Regions from separate parts of the Homo sapiens genome. Here region 2 is linked to region 1. The links are contacts of gene promoters, found by promoter capture Hi-C in blood cells and fetal thymus (Javierre and others, 2016). All regions are on one chromosome and are shown on one strand. Each heading gives the region's core, a stretch centred on a gene start or on the middle of the fragment in contact. The rest is flanking DNA. Distances are from core to core; before and after follow the strand shown. Region 1 holds the start of BHLHE40 (basic helix-loop-helix family member e40). Region 2 overlaps CRBN (cereblon).

What was found. Contacts are between HindIII fragments. The CHiCAGO score rates a contact against its expected background, and 5 or more counts as called.
Region 2: a fragment that was not itself captured here is called in contact with the fragment with the promoter of BHLHE40 in region 1 in 1 of 17 cell types (non-activated CD4 T cells); the score reaches 5.2 in non-activated CD4 T cells.

What each region holds. Positions count from the first base shown.
Region 1 is chr3:4,975,724-4,982,187 of GRCh38, forward strand. It overlaps BHLHE40 (basic helix-loop-helix family member e40), which reads left to right and starts at 3,714. Exons shown (of 5, transcript NM_003670.3): 1 at 3,714-4,075; 2 at 4,239-4,308; 3 at 4,578-4,685; 4 at 5,669-5,792. The coding sequence starts at 3,996. BHLHE40-AS1 (BHLHE40 antisense RNA 1) reads right to left here and starts at 4,238. Exons shown (of 3, transcript NR_125916.1): 1 at 4,072-4,238. RefSeq lists enhancers at 327-506, 1,936-2,125, 2,426-2,545, 3,846-3,995, 4,103-4,697 and 1 more and silencers at 2,656-3,425, 3,636-3,695. The HindIII fragment of the contact is 7,213 bases long and covers 1,104-6,464 here.
Region 2 is chr3:3,170,130-3,176,593 of GRCh38, forward strand. CRBN (cereblon) reads right to left here. Exons shown (of 11, transcript NM_016302.4): 2 at 5,034-5,140; 3 at 3,930-4,132; 4 at 2,647-2,796. Among named protein-coding and RNA genes, the nearest start is that of CRBN, 6.3 kb to the right of the region's middle. The HindIII fragment of the contact is 2,401 bases long and covers 2,465-4,865 here.

The sequences.
Region 1 (6,464 bases), core at 2,464-4,963:
CACCACACTCGGCCTGATTGACTTCTTTCTAAGTGGCTCAATTTTTTCTTTTTTCTTTTTTAAGAGAGCAATGGTTACTCAGGAGTATAGGAGAGAGGGTAGCGGTCACTTATTGCTATAGCCCAACCAAGCTTTGGCTGCCCTATGCTTAAATATACTTAAGATGTGTGTAAAGACATACGTGTGTGTATTGAGACATGATGTAAAATGTATTTCTTACCGTGAGCTGAGATAAAAATTTTTGAGGCTTCATAAGCAGGTAAAAAGTGATATCTGAGCAAGCAAGTTGTGGGGATGTATAGGGGAGCTTGGGGCTCTAAATTCTTGCACAGGAAGGGCCCGGGAGTTACTATAGATAGTAACAGTATAGACTCATTCAGCACACAGTGTAAGGCCACCAAGATGCTGAGTCCCAATAGGAAAGAAGAGAAAGATCCCATCTTTCTCTTGTACGAAATTATGTTCTCTCCCCACTTAGAAGAGACAAAACAGCAGGGACGGCTACAAAATGGCAGGATTACCCAGTGCAGCTGCTCAGTGCCACATTGCACAACTCCAGAGGGTGCTCTCACACAGACTGCAATGTGAATAGCTCCCCCTGGAGTTGAGCGGTGCACAACCCAAACAACCCTACCAGGCAACCGTAAGTATAGTGATTAAGAGCACAAGCTTTGGAGTCCAACAAACCTGGGGGCCTGTCTCAGACTGAATCCCAGACTATATAACCTGGGGCAGGTTATTTAGCCTCCTTGAGCCTCAATTTTCCAAACAGAATATGTTATACATCCCTAGGGCCTATTTCAGTGTCTGGCATTGAATAACAATAAACACGTGTCAAATGCATCGAGCTAATACTAGTACCTGCCTAAAAGGTGGTGGTGAGGAGCAAAGAAATTGACATACGAAAGGTTTTTAATATCTACAAAAGATGACAGACTGAAATAGTAACATTCTCCAGGATGGAAAGATCTATGCCACGTAGGAATTGTTTGTTCAAATTATTATTTTTTAAAAGCCATAAGCTATGGAGAGAATAACAGAGTTTTGTTTTGTTTTTTAATCCTGATACGGTGGAAGTCTGGTAGGATGGGAACCGTTCTTGAAGCTTGAGAATACATTCGGAACAAATAAAAAGTAGGAAATGCATACATTTTGTTATTTACAGTTGTAGGGCAGGTAAGGGCAAAACGTATTGATAAACTCAAAGAATTTTAAGAATGATATTGTCATGAGCCATGAGCCATGGAAGCTGCAAGGTTTGGGCTCCCTCCTGCCATCGGGTGGGGGGTGTCGGCGGAAGGGGGTACGTGTCCTGTCCTCTCCCAGTGCTTATTTCCTGCTGGAACCGTGGTTTTGACGCAGCCGTGACAGCCCTTCATCCTTATTAAAATCACACAATGAAGCAGGTCGCCCAAGATTGAAAGCGCGTTTCCAGGGCGGACCCCGGTCCCCGCCTTTGGCCAGCAAAAGTACATTCTGGCAGGGAGGGATCTCTGAGCCCCGAAGTGAGGTCATGCCAGTTAGCAGTTAGAAAAGGAGGCATTTCTCACACTTGCTAAAGAGTTTGACGCTTGTGAAATATAAACAGGAAGCGGGAGCTCTCCAAGGCGACCTGAAGGAAATACACTGCCAGTTTGGTCAACTTGTGAATGCCAGTTCTCTAGGTCGTCAAGGGCACTGCCAGTTAAGACTGATCCCCTAACTGCACCCGAGGCTACTACTCTTCGCCCAGTCTCGGCAGTGACCCCATTTTTTTTTCAATCCTTCCCACAGCCAGGTCACTCAGCAGTGGGGTGACTGACCCGAAGCGCAGTGGGAAGGGCTTACAGTCATCTCTCAACTCCCCGAACTTGCAGGGCAGGGGAGCGCAGAGGTCAGTGAAATCCCCAGCCAGGCCTTATTTTAGTCATGAGTTTCCACTGGCTCCCTCCTCTGACTGTATCAGCGCTGCTCACACCGCGGGATTGGAGTTTCAGCTGTTTTCCCTGCTCCCGGCTGAGTGAGAAGGTCACAGAGCCCGGACCTTTCCGGGGGAGGTGGGTGGGGCCCTCCGGCAGCCTAAGTGAGATTGCAGAGATCTGGGGCCGCTGGAGGAGGTCCTTCCGCCCCGGGCTTGGGGCTTTGGGTTAGCTTCTCCCCCGCTTCTCTACCTAGGCATCTCGGTTACAATGAAATTAAAAACAAAACACAAAGCAACACAAGTTCTCATTGTTTTTCCCCTCTGTCAGCCAGTGGCCTCGATACAATTTTCCCAGGGCTGCCTTTCCTTTATTGCTCAATTTAACCTCTTCCTAGAGGTTCTGCAAGTTCAAGGGCAGGATCCGTGTCGGATTCATCAACTAGTGCAGCGCCTAGTGCAGAGCAGGGGGCTCAAGAAATACGTGTCGACCGCATGATTGCTAAGATTTCCCTGTAACAGGCGGTTTTTTTTTCTTGTCTCTCTCATCCCTCCTGCCCTGGGTGCAGACCGCGAACAGCGCCGCCGAACTTCCCAACAGGCAGGGAGAGGGCCGATCCGGGCTGGCACGCCACGTCCCCGGGGTCTCAGTCCCTGGGTCAACGCAGAGAGGCTCGCGGTCCGCGGTGCTACGACCTGAGCCCGGCCACGTGAAGCGTCACGCCCTGCGCTGCTGCAGGGCAGGCGCCGCCGCCGCGGTTGTGTAACGCTGCAGCCGGAGGGGAGGCGACCGGGGCGCCTCTGCTCCGGAGGGGGCAGAGGAGGGAGGGAGCGCCGGGCACAGCGCCCGGTATCTTTCTGCGCTTGACTGGCCGGGAGGAAGGGGGTGACACTGGGGCACCCAGGGGGCTGCGCAACCGGGTGCCCGCCCGCCCGCAGGTTGTGCCCAGGAGCGGAGCTCCTGGGAGCGAGGGGCCCTCGGCTCACACCCTCCACGGTCAGGTGCGCGCGGCGTGCTCGGCGGCAGCCTCAGCTGCCCCTGCGCTTGGCCGTCGGCCCGCTTCCCATGGGGTGACATCCGCCCCGCCCCTCGGTCCCTCCCCAAGGCGGGCAATTCCTGGACGCGAGGGTGAGCAGTGGGGGCAGGGAAGCCAGGACGGAAAGAAACCCCAGCCTCTGGGGAAGGCTGGGGGGCCGGGCGACTCCCTCCGCAGCGCGCCGGTTCCTCCAAGCGGGCCGGGCGGGGGAGGAGGAAGAGGGCTGGGCTGGAGCTAGCAAGGGGATATTCCTCTCCCGGCTTGAGTCAGACGCGGGCGGATCCGTCCTCCCCCGTTCCCTCCCAGGAGACGGGAACTTACTTCATTTCCCTGGGGCAGGTTCGCCCACGTTACCAACTTCTCCCCCTCCCCCAGCACCCCCGTCCCTTCCAGCTTCCGCGCCCCCCACCCAACTGGGCAGGACCCAGGTCGTGCTGCCACCCCCTCTTCGGGGAAAGGCGGCCGCAGCCGCAGACACCTGGGGGCCGGGGCTGGGGGTGGGGGCTCCCTAGCAGCCGCCGGAGCGTTGTCCAACACGTGAGACTCATGTGATGAAGCCGGGGGAGGGCGGGCAGGTCGCTCCTTCCCTCCCCGGCAGTGGCCAGACGTGCCTGGAGTCACAGGGTAGAACACGTAGCTCCAACCCACCCACTCGCTCCCATTTAACCCAGCCCGCAGCCTCTCCATTACTCCTCGGCTTGCCCCCCCACCCCCCCACTCCGCCCTAACCGCCCCCCCCTCACCCGCTCCCTCCCGCCTCCCCGCCCGCCCCACTTCTCATTCACTTGGCTCGCACGGCGCAGACAGACCGCGCAGGGAGCACACACCGCCAGTCTGTGCGCTGAGTCGGAGCCAGAGGCCGCGGGGACACCGGGCCATGCACGCCCCCAACTGAAGCTGCATCTCAAAGCCGAAGATTCCAGCAGCCCAGGGGATTTCAAAGAGCTCAGACTCAGAGGAACATCTGCGGAGAGACCCCCGAAGCCCTCTCCAGGGCAGTCCTCATCCAGACGCTCCGCTAGTGCAGACAGGAGCGCGCAGTGGCCCCGGCTCGCCGCGCCATGGAGCGGATCCCCAGCGCGCAACCACCCCCCGCCTGCCTGCCCAAAGCACCGGGACTGGAGCACGGAGACCTACCAGGGTAAGTTGGCACTCCTTGGCCCTTCAAGCCTCAACTGCAGCCCCATGTTATGCGCCACTCTCAACTTGGAGCAGCTCCGGGCGCACCGGGAGGTTCTTGCCCGGCAGAACGCCTGCAGCCGTGCGCAAGCAGTCACGACCCTTCCTGGTCTCTCTTCCTGCAGGATGTACCCTGCCCACATGTACCAAGTGTACAAGTCAAGACGGGGAATAAAGCGGAGCGAGGACAGCAAGGTAAGCAAGTGCACCCCTAGGGACCCTGCGCTCAGCCCCTCGCGCGCGCTGAGTTTCCAAGAAAAGTTTTCTCGCTTTGAGGTTGGCGAGGGGATGCAGGGTGTGGGCTCGGTGCCTCTTCTGAGTGACTTGGAAAAGAAAGGGCAGACGATGGTTCTGGGTGCTACTCTGCTACTCTGCTCCTCTGCCGGACTGTTGCTGCGGGGCTGGGAGGATAGGCTTCTCATCTCCTTCCCCAAGCGCCCACCGCCTCCCCGTGCGTCTTGCAGGAGACCTACAAATTGCCGCACCGGCTCATCGAGAAAAAGAGACGTGACCGGATTAACGAGTGCATCGCCCAGCTGAAGGATCTCCTACCCGAACATCTCAAACTTACAGTAAGTGAGAAGCTGGCCCCTTTCCAACCCAGTCCTTTGCCCAGAGGGCGGGCGGGTCACTCGCCGCCTGCAGGTTCCGCGGGGAACTGCAGACCAGACTGGCGGATCAGAGCTGGCGGGTGGCTCTGCGGTGGGGTCCTCCTCCACAGTCCTGGCGTTTTCTGGCTGACTCATGCAAATGAGGCGAGAACCACTTGGACCTCTCCAAGTTGGCTCCAACACCAACTGGCCTTCCTTTTCAGGAGTTTAACTTCTGGTGATTTTCAGGATTCCCTAGTTTTTCTCACTTAAAGGAACACGCCAAGAAACACACACATTTTATTTACCCCTTCCCCTCTACCACTCCCCCCACCTTTTTTGTTGTTGTTGTCAAATAAGGGGACTTGCTTTGGTGTGTGATTTTTACGGCCTGTCCTTTCTTGACAGTAGCCCTCGGCTACTTCGCAGCCTTTGGTTGGGGAAATGGAAAAAAAAAAAATAGTATTTCGGGAGGAACAAAAAAGCCTGGATGAGCTGGAAGTTCTGAAAGGGTGTAAGGAAAGAAGTAGGGAAAGCCTCTTGGCTGCCAGACGTAATAGAGGTCCCTCTCTGAGTTGACACCACTGCAGGAAAATGTTATCTCTGGATTCCCCTGAGTTAAGGTCGGCAGAGGCTGCTGGAGAAATTTATCTGTCAAAGGATTTTCCTGAGGTAGTTGCAGCTTCCAAAATGCCTCCAAAGACAGGTGGCACCCGTTTTTTTAAATTATTTAATTATATATATATATTATATATATATACACACACACACACACACACACACACACACACATATATGAGTGTATCTGTCTATCTTTTTAAAAGCATGACCTACAGACTTAAAACAGCCAACCAGGAAACACTATTCCACTTTTTTTTTTCTTTTCTCATTTCTCATTGCTAATAAATGTCCCAAAGGTGGGACTTCTCTGACCTCACCGCTGACTAAGGCTCTTTTCCTTCCAGACTTTGGGTCACTTGGAAAAAGCAGTGGTTCTTGAACTTACCTTGAAGCATGTGAAAGCACTAACAAACCTAATTGATCAGCAGCAGCAGAAAATCATTGCCCTGCAGAGTGGTTTACAAGCTGGTGAGTGCTGATTCTGGCTATGCTCTCTTTAAGAGTTTGAGTGCAAATAGAGAGCCCGTGGGCTCAACATCTGATGTAATAAACATTACTGCAACAAATTGCTTATGCACGTTCATTGGGGGAGATGCAGTTTTATCTTTCCTAAAAGGTCAGACTTTTCATTTGAAATGCATTGTGCCACCTGGCATGAATACGTATTAGTGAAATGATAAGATATTCCTGTGGCATTTTAGCTTGAGAGTCTCTGGGTTCTGGGAGATTTCCCTACTCCCTTTTAAAATGCCAAGGCACCTATAATTTGCATTGTGGGTGTTTTACAGTTGGTCTTCTTAGCCCTCTTTCATTGGAGAAGAAATCATGGGTATGCCCCAGCGTTTTCCTGTTTCTTTGCTTCCTTGTCACTTGGTGTGTGGTGTGATCCTGGCAGGATACAGCAGGAGTTTTTCCTGCATTTCATGTGGTTCCCTGAATAGCCACTAGGTATCTTGGTGAATTGCACAATCTAGCGAAACCACTGAAGTTTCATCATTCGTTTCTACTGACTTCCAGATAATCGGAGTCAACCTTCTAACCTTCTAGTCTCACTTCTTCCAAATAATACTGTACAGACTGGGGAGAATTATTCTACCCACTCCCTCATTTCATGCTTGTCTGCCTTCCTCTCGAAGGCTC
Region 2 (6,464 bases), core at 2,415-4,914, 1.8 Mb before region 1:
CCACCATGCCCAGCTAATTTCTTGTATTTTTAGTAGTGATGCAGCTTCACCATGTTGGCCAAGCTGGTCTTGAACTGCTGGCCTTAAATGATTCACATACCTTGGCCTTCCAGAGGGCTGAAATTACAGGTATGAGTCACCACACCTGGCCTCTGTAGTGTACTTTTAATAAATGAAGTGTCATTTAGGTAAAAGATGGATATTTATATTTTTTAATTTTTATTTTTCTATATGCTTATTTCTCTAAGAAAAACAAATGAATATTAAATATTTTACTGGAGAAAGGGAAGCTGGCTTGAGTTTCAAATGTGTTATAGAGAAATTCTGGTATAATGGAAGGAGTACCAGTTTGGAAGTCATGGGACCTAGAACCAATCAGGTCTGTCGCTTATTTGCTGTTTAAGCAAATTACTTAACCTCTCTAGTACCTGGCATTCTGATACAGAAAAAGACGAGACTGAACTAAATCAACTCCAGAATTTCTTTCATTTCACCATTTCCAGTGAAGGTGGTTACAGGGCCAGAGAAGTAGTGGAGCCAAGAGAAATCTCATTCCACAGAGGCCTTTTAAATGAAGACAGACATACCCTTATGAGAGGCCTTAATAATGGGTCTACAGAATACTAGAGAGAATGTGCCCTTTCCAAGTCTTGTCCACCTGTATCAGTTTGATGTTAATCTTTTTTTTCCTTTGAGATGGAGTTTTCCTCTTGTTGCCCAGGCTGGAGTGCAGTGGTGCCATCTTGGCTCACCACAACCTCTGCCTCCCGGGTTCAAGCGATTCTCCTGCCTCAGCCTCCCTAGTAGCTGGGATTACAGTCATGCGCCACCATGCCCGGCTAACTTTGTATTTTTAGTAGAGATGGGGTTTCTCCATGTTGGTCAGGCTGATCTCAAACTCGTGAGCTCAGGTGATCGTCCTGCCTTGGCCTCCCAAAATACTGGGATTACAGGCATGAGCCACTGTGCGCGGCCTGATGTTAATCTTTACTAGAGTCAAAAATCCATTCCTTGTCTTGTTTTCAGAGTTAACGGTATACTGCCATCTTGTGTTCAATAGTTTTTCCACAATCAAAAGTCACTAATGTCAAGACAGTCTGAGAAATATACTTTTCCCCAAGTCAATTTTCCTTAATGATTTCTATAAAAGTATTCACAAATAATCAAAATTGTATGAAGATAAGAAGTACTTTAAAAATGGAACTGTTAGCAAAATCCACAGTAACAAAACAGTTTGCTAATTATCATAATGCAGACCACCCCCACCCGCCCCAGGAGATCATTCTTTCATTCATTTATATAAAATTTATGGTCCTAAATGTAAAACATAAATAAGTCTTGGTCATTGTTCTCAAGCAGCTTATCTATTGAGGGAGACGTACATAAAATCCTGTCAGGACAGTGCAATGTGGTAAGGCTATCAAAGTTTGCACAGTGAATGTTCTGGAAAAGTACCTGGGGAGAACTAAACACCCTAAGAGCTCTGGCAATCCCATCTCACATGCCTCTATGCTCTCTTTAGCTCCAAGGAGCTACCTGACATGTCAATATTTTCATAATTCAAAAATATATAGGAACGCCCACCATGTGAACAAAACAGACAAAACGTTCCTGCCCTCATGCTGCTCACATTGTTTTTTCAGTCTTAATCCCCCACCCCGCCCAAAAAAACCCCAAAATACTCAGAACTTGCATGTGTTCAGAAGATACCACCTGGGCAACACAGAGGTCTGATGAGATTTTCAACTGTGGGTATAAATTGGAAACCAATTCACTAGTACTTGTATTGCGTACCAGGACTGTGTATCTGTGAGACCTCACGGGTGATGCCACAGTTTAGAAGCACTCCGTTAAGAGGTAATATCCAGTGATCAAGGCAAATGCTTTGTTTCCTTTTTAAAAGAGGATAAAATAAACTGGACTTTTTTGTGTCTGTTTTAATGTGTATCCCTTGAATTTGTGCAAAACCCAGCCATGACAGCTTTGTCAAAATGAATTACTGCTGAAACAGTATACTCAGGGAATTTCTAAATGTCACAAGGCACATAGACTACAAGTATTTATTGATCATTTATTATGTAAATAGCATTTCTGGGTGATATAAAATTCACACTGGAGAGGGACACGAAATATAAATGGCTTTTATAGCTCAGCTGGAGCAGTAGGCAGATGTAACCAGTGTGGCTTTCAAACATCATAGCAATGCTACAAAAACCACAGCTGTCCTGGTGAGCACACGAACAGCTCACAAGCCTCTGGTCTCCCTATCCTCTTATGCTCCGAGAGGCCTTCAATCCTAAAGAAGCCAAATCCCAAACAACACTTCCCTTTGGATTTACATGATTGTTCTCAAACCTGGAGAGACATTAGAATCACCTGAAAATCATTTTTAAAAGATGCTGCAGCCTCATCACTCTCTGGAGATGGGAGATGAGGTTGGAACTCAAGCTTCTATAGTTTTAAAAGCTTCCCAGGTGATTCTGATGCATAGCAAGGTTGGAAACCACTGGGCTATACCTTAGAAGGGAAAGAGAACAACTAGTTAAAAGTTACAAAATATGAAGGCTCAGTAGAACAGAAAAAGTACAAGAAAACTATTTCATTAGGAAACATTCAAAGAGCATTAAGGTATATGTTATTTCTTACCCATCTGACTGTGTTCTTAGCTCAAGGACTTTGAACCTTTGTCTTCCAATTGCTTTCACTTTCACTATCTCAATTCCAAAATCCTGTTCTTCTCGATAGGCATATATCTCTGCTGTTGTTCCAAACTGTGCTTCCCTTTCCTGTACATTGCTTCCAAGAAAATTTTAAAAGGAAAGAATTTTGAACATTTGAGTTTTAAATATATGCAAAGTAGGCAAAGCAATAAATACAGGTAAACAATTTATAGAATCAACCCTTACTACAAAGCTAGGATAATTTTATTTATTTATTTATTTGTTTGAGATGGAGTCTCGCTGCGTTGCCCAGACTAGAGAGCAGTGGCATGAGCTCGGCTTGCTGCAGCCTCTGCCTCCCAGGTTCAAGTGATTCTCCTGCCCCAGCTGCCTGAGTAGCTGGGATTACAGGCACATACCACCACGCCTGGCTAATTTTTGTATTTTTAGTAGAGACGGGGTTTCACCATGTTGGTCAGGCTGGTCTCAAACTCCCGACCTCAGGTGATCCACCCGCCTCGGCCTCCCAAAGTGCTGGGAGTATAGGCGTGAGCTACCATGCCCGGCCAATTTTATTTATTTTTAAATCACATGGGGGATATACAAGAAGGACTCAGGAAGTACAATTAGAGAACTTTAGGAAAATAATAGATTTCTAGTCACTGAAAATAATTTAGAACTTACAGGGGTTTAAACTCATTTCCCAAACCAAACATTCTTTCACTCTGTCAAATGACTTATCATTTCTGCTGCTTACTGGCAGCACTGTACTGGGGTGGGAGCTTCCTGTATGTATTTCCTGCCTCTACCGCAGATTTCCTTTATTTGCCATGGGATACTTAAAATTCAGCTTCAATTTAAAGTGGTACAACCTATGAATTTTGAGAGAGAGGGAAAGAAAAGACCACTCTTTTGGAAAAGTAATCCTTTACGTTAAAATAAAAAAGCACTACTTCTCTATAATGAAGACAGTTATTGAAACTAAGATTCCAGAAATGTTTTTCATCAAATATAAATGATTAAAAATTTTTCAAATACCAGAAAGTTAAATTGTGTATGAAGGTGAAGAGCTGAGTTAGATGGTAATGAAATGAACAAAAATACTCCAACTTGCACTATCAAACTTCTACTTAACCAAATTCCTAACCTCACATTCTTACCCAACCTCTCCTGTACATGCGAAATAACAGCCTGCTTTGGCTTCAACACTGACCACTGCAATTACCCATGAGAGGGAATGTATTAAGCAAATGGACTCTAATATTTTACCTGTATGCAAGAACAGCAAAGGTTCTATCTTTCTGAATTAAATTCCGCACCATACTGACTTCTTGAGGGTGAAAAAGCTGAAGAGGTAATGTCTGTCCGGGAATCAGGATCATCATCACTTGTGGAAGAACTGGAATCACCTGACAGCTGTCGTCATCGTGCAAAGTCCTGCCATGAAATTCTTCCATATCAGCACCTAGGTACTATATAAAAACATATATAGGTATAGTGTCATGATCGATATGTAATAAAAATGTAAGCTCAACAGACTAAAGAGCAAATCACATTAAAAGAAATACAGGCCGGGCACAGTGGCTCACACCTGTAATTCCAGCACTTTGGGAGGCCGAGGTAGGCGGATCACCTGAGGTCAGGAGTTCAAGACCAACCTGGCCAACATGGTGGAACCCTGTTGCTACTAAAAATACAAAAATTAGCCAGGTGTGGTGGTGGACACCTGTAATCCCAGCTAATCGGGAGGCTGAGGCAGGGGAATCACTTGAACCTGGAAGGTGGAGGCTGCAGTGAGCTGAGATTGTGCCACTGCACTCACTCGAGCTTGGGCGACAGAGCAACACTCTGTCTCAAAAAAAAAGAAAAAAATACAAATGGGGTTACAAACACTTAATAAACGTGGTATATAAGCATCCCATGTTAAAATATAATTTTTAATCTAACTTTAACTCTTAGAAGAATTTCTAATCTTTTATGAATATATCACAAACACAGAAATTCAAGAATTTTTTTAGTACAAAGTATTATTTTTACCAAGAAATATCTCTATGCCCACATATCACAAACAGTAAGTATAAAATGTTAGTATGTTCAATAACACTCTAGTACCTAGAAGTACAGAGAAGTATTTAATAGCTCAATTACCAGAAAGAGTATAAAGAGCAACAATTCCTCAAACAATTCTACCACAACATAGTATTAAGCTTCTTAAAAATTACAGTTAAATGTTTATCTACTGGCAAATAGCCCATGTCCTCATCCACAATTTCTGATATCTAGTAATACAAATATCAGTCACTTGTTTTTATGAACTTTTATCTACATTTAAATGTATATCTATTATATTAGATCTGTCACTAAATTACATACTGTATGTGATGTCGGCAGACTGGTGTCAAAATTTATGATGTTTGGTTTTTTGGCTTCTTTACTATCCTGGTCTTCAACTTCCATTTCATCTTCTTCCTCACTCTCTGCTATAAAAGTAGAATATTGTAAGAAAAAAAAAAAGATGAATGAAAACCTTTCAAACATGTAATTCCTTCTTCAAAAGAGGGGTACTTCTAAAACCACATGCATTTGGTAAACTCTACAGCACCGTGAAGAGGGAGCCAGAGGACTGGGGTCCGTGCTGGGCTCTGTCAGTAGCTATTTTTTTTTTTTAAGTCAACTGTGAATTTTAGAATAGTTTAACATTTACAGAGAAGTGTAAAGATAGTACAGAATGCTCCCGTGTGTCACACATCCTTTTCCCCTATAGTTAATTTATATTAGTATGGTACATTTGCCACAACGAAGGAATCAGTCTTGGTACATTACTCTAACTAAGCTTCATATTTTAAATGGATTCCCTTAGTTTTTATCTAGTCTTTTTGCGTTCCAGGATCCCACTTTACATTTAGTTATCAGGTCCCCCTACCCTCCTCTGGGCTAGGGGGGTTTTCAGACTTTGCTTGTTTCTGAGTTTTGAGGAGTACTGGTCAGGCCTTTTGTAGAGTATCCCTCAACTGGGTTTTGTTTGATGTAATTCCCATGATTAGACTGAGGATACGTGTTTTAGGGAGGAAGACCACAGAAGTGAAGTGTTGTTATTCTTTTCCTTTTTAGAAATGGGGTCTGTTGCCAATGTGCTGTTTTTATTACATATCCAGCCTATATATTATGAACTATTCCTGCTGTTAACCTTGATCACCTGGCTACAGCAGTGTGTGTCAGGTTTTTCCGCTGTAAAGTTCCTTTCCCCCCTCCTTTTCACATTGTACCCTTCGGAAGCAAATCACTAGGTGTAGCCTCCACTTCAGGGGTGATGAGTTATGCTCCACTCCCTTGAAGAGGAAATGTAAGTTATTTAAAATTCTTCTATATGGGAGATTTTTCTCTTCTCCCTCACCAGTAACTAATTTTAACACCTTAGACAACTCATTCTGCCCAATTAAATTTTAGTTTCCTCATCTGCAAAATGATAGGCTTCAACAAGTCAACCTCTAACGTTCTCTCAAACTCTCAACTTCAATCAGTTCCTACATAAGTAAGAAAAGAAACAAAGCAGGCAAGATCTGTTAATTAAAACTGAGAGAAAGATAACCTAGCAGGAAGAATTTCACAGCATTTTTCTAGTGACAACATTTCCCTGGCAGTCGCTACATTATCTTAAAATGAAGGCCAGGTGTGGTGGCTCACACCTGTAATCCCAGCACTTTGGGAGGACGAGGCAGGCAGATCACTTGAGGTCAGGAGTTCAAGACCAGCCTGGCCAACATGTTGCAACCCCATCTCTACTAAAAACACAAAAGTTAGCCG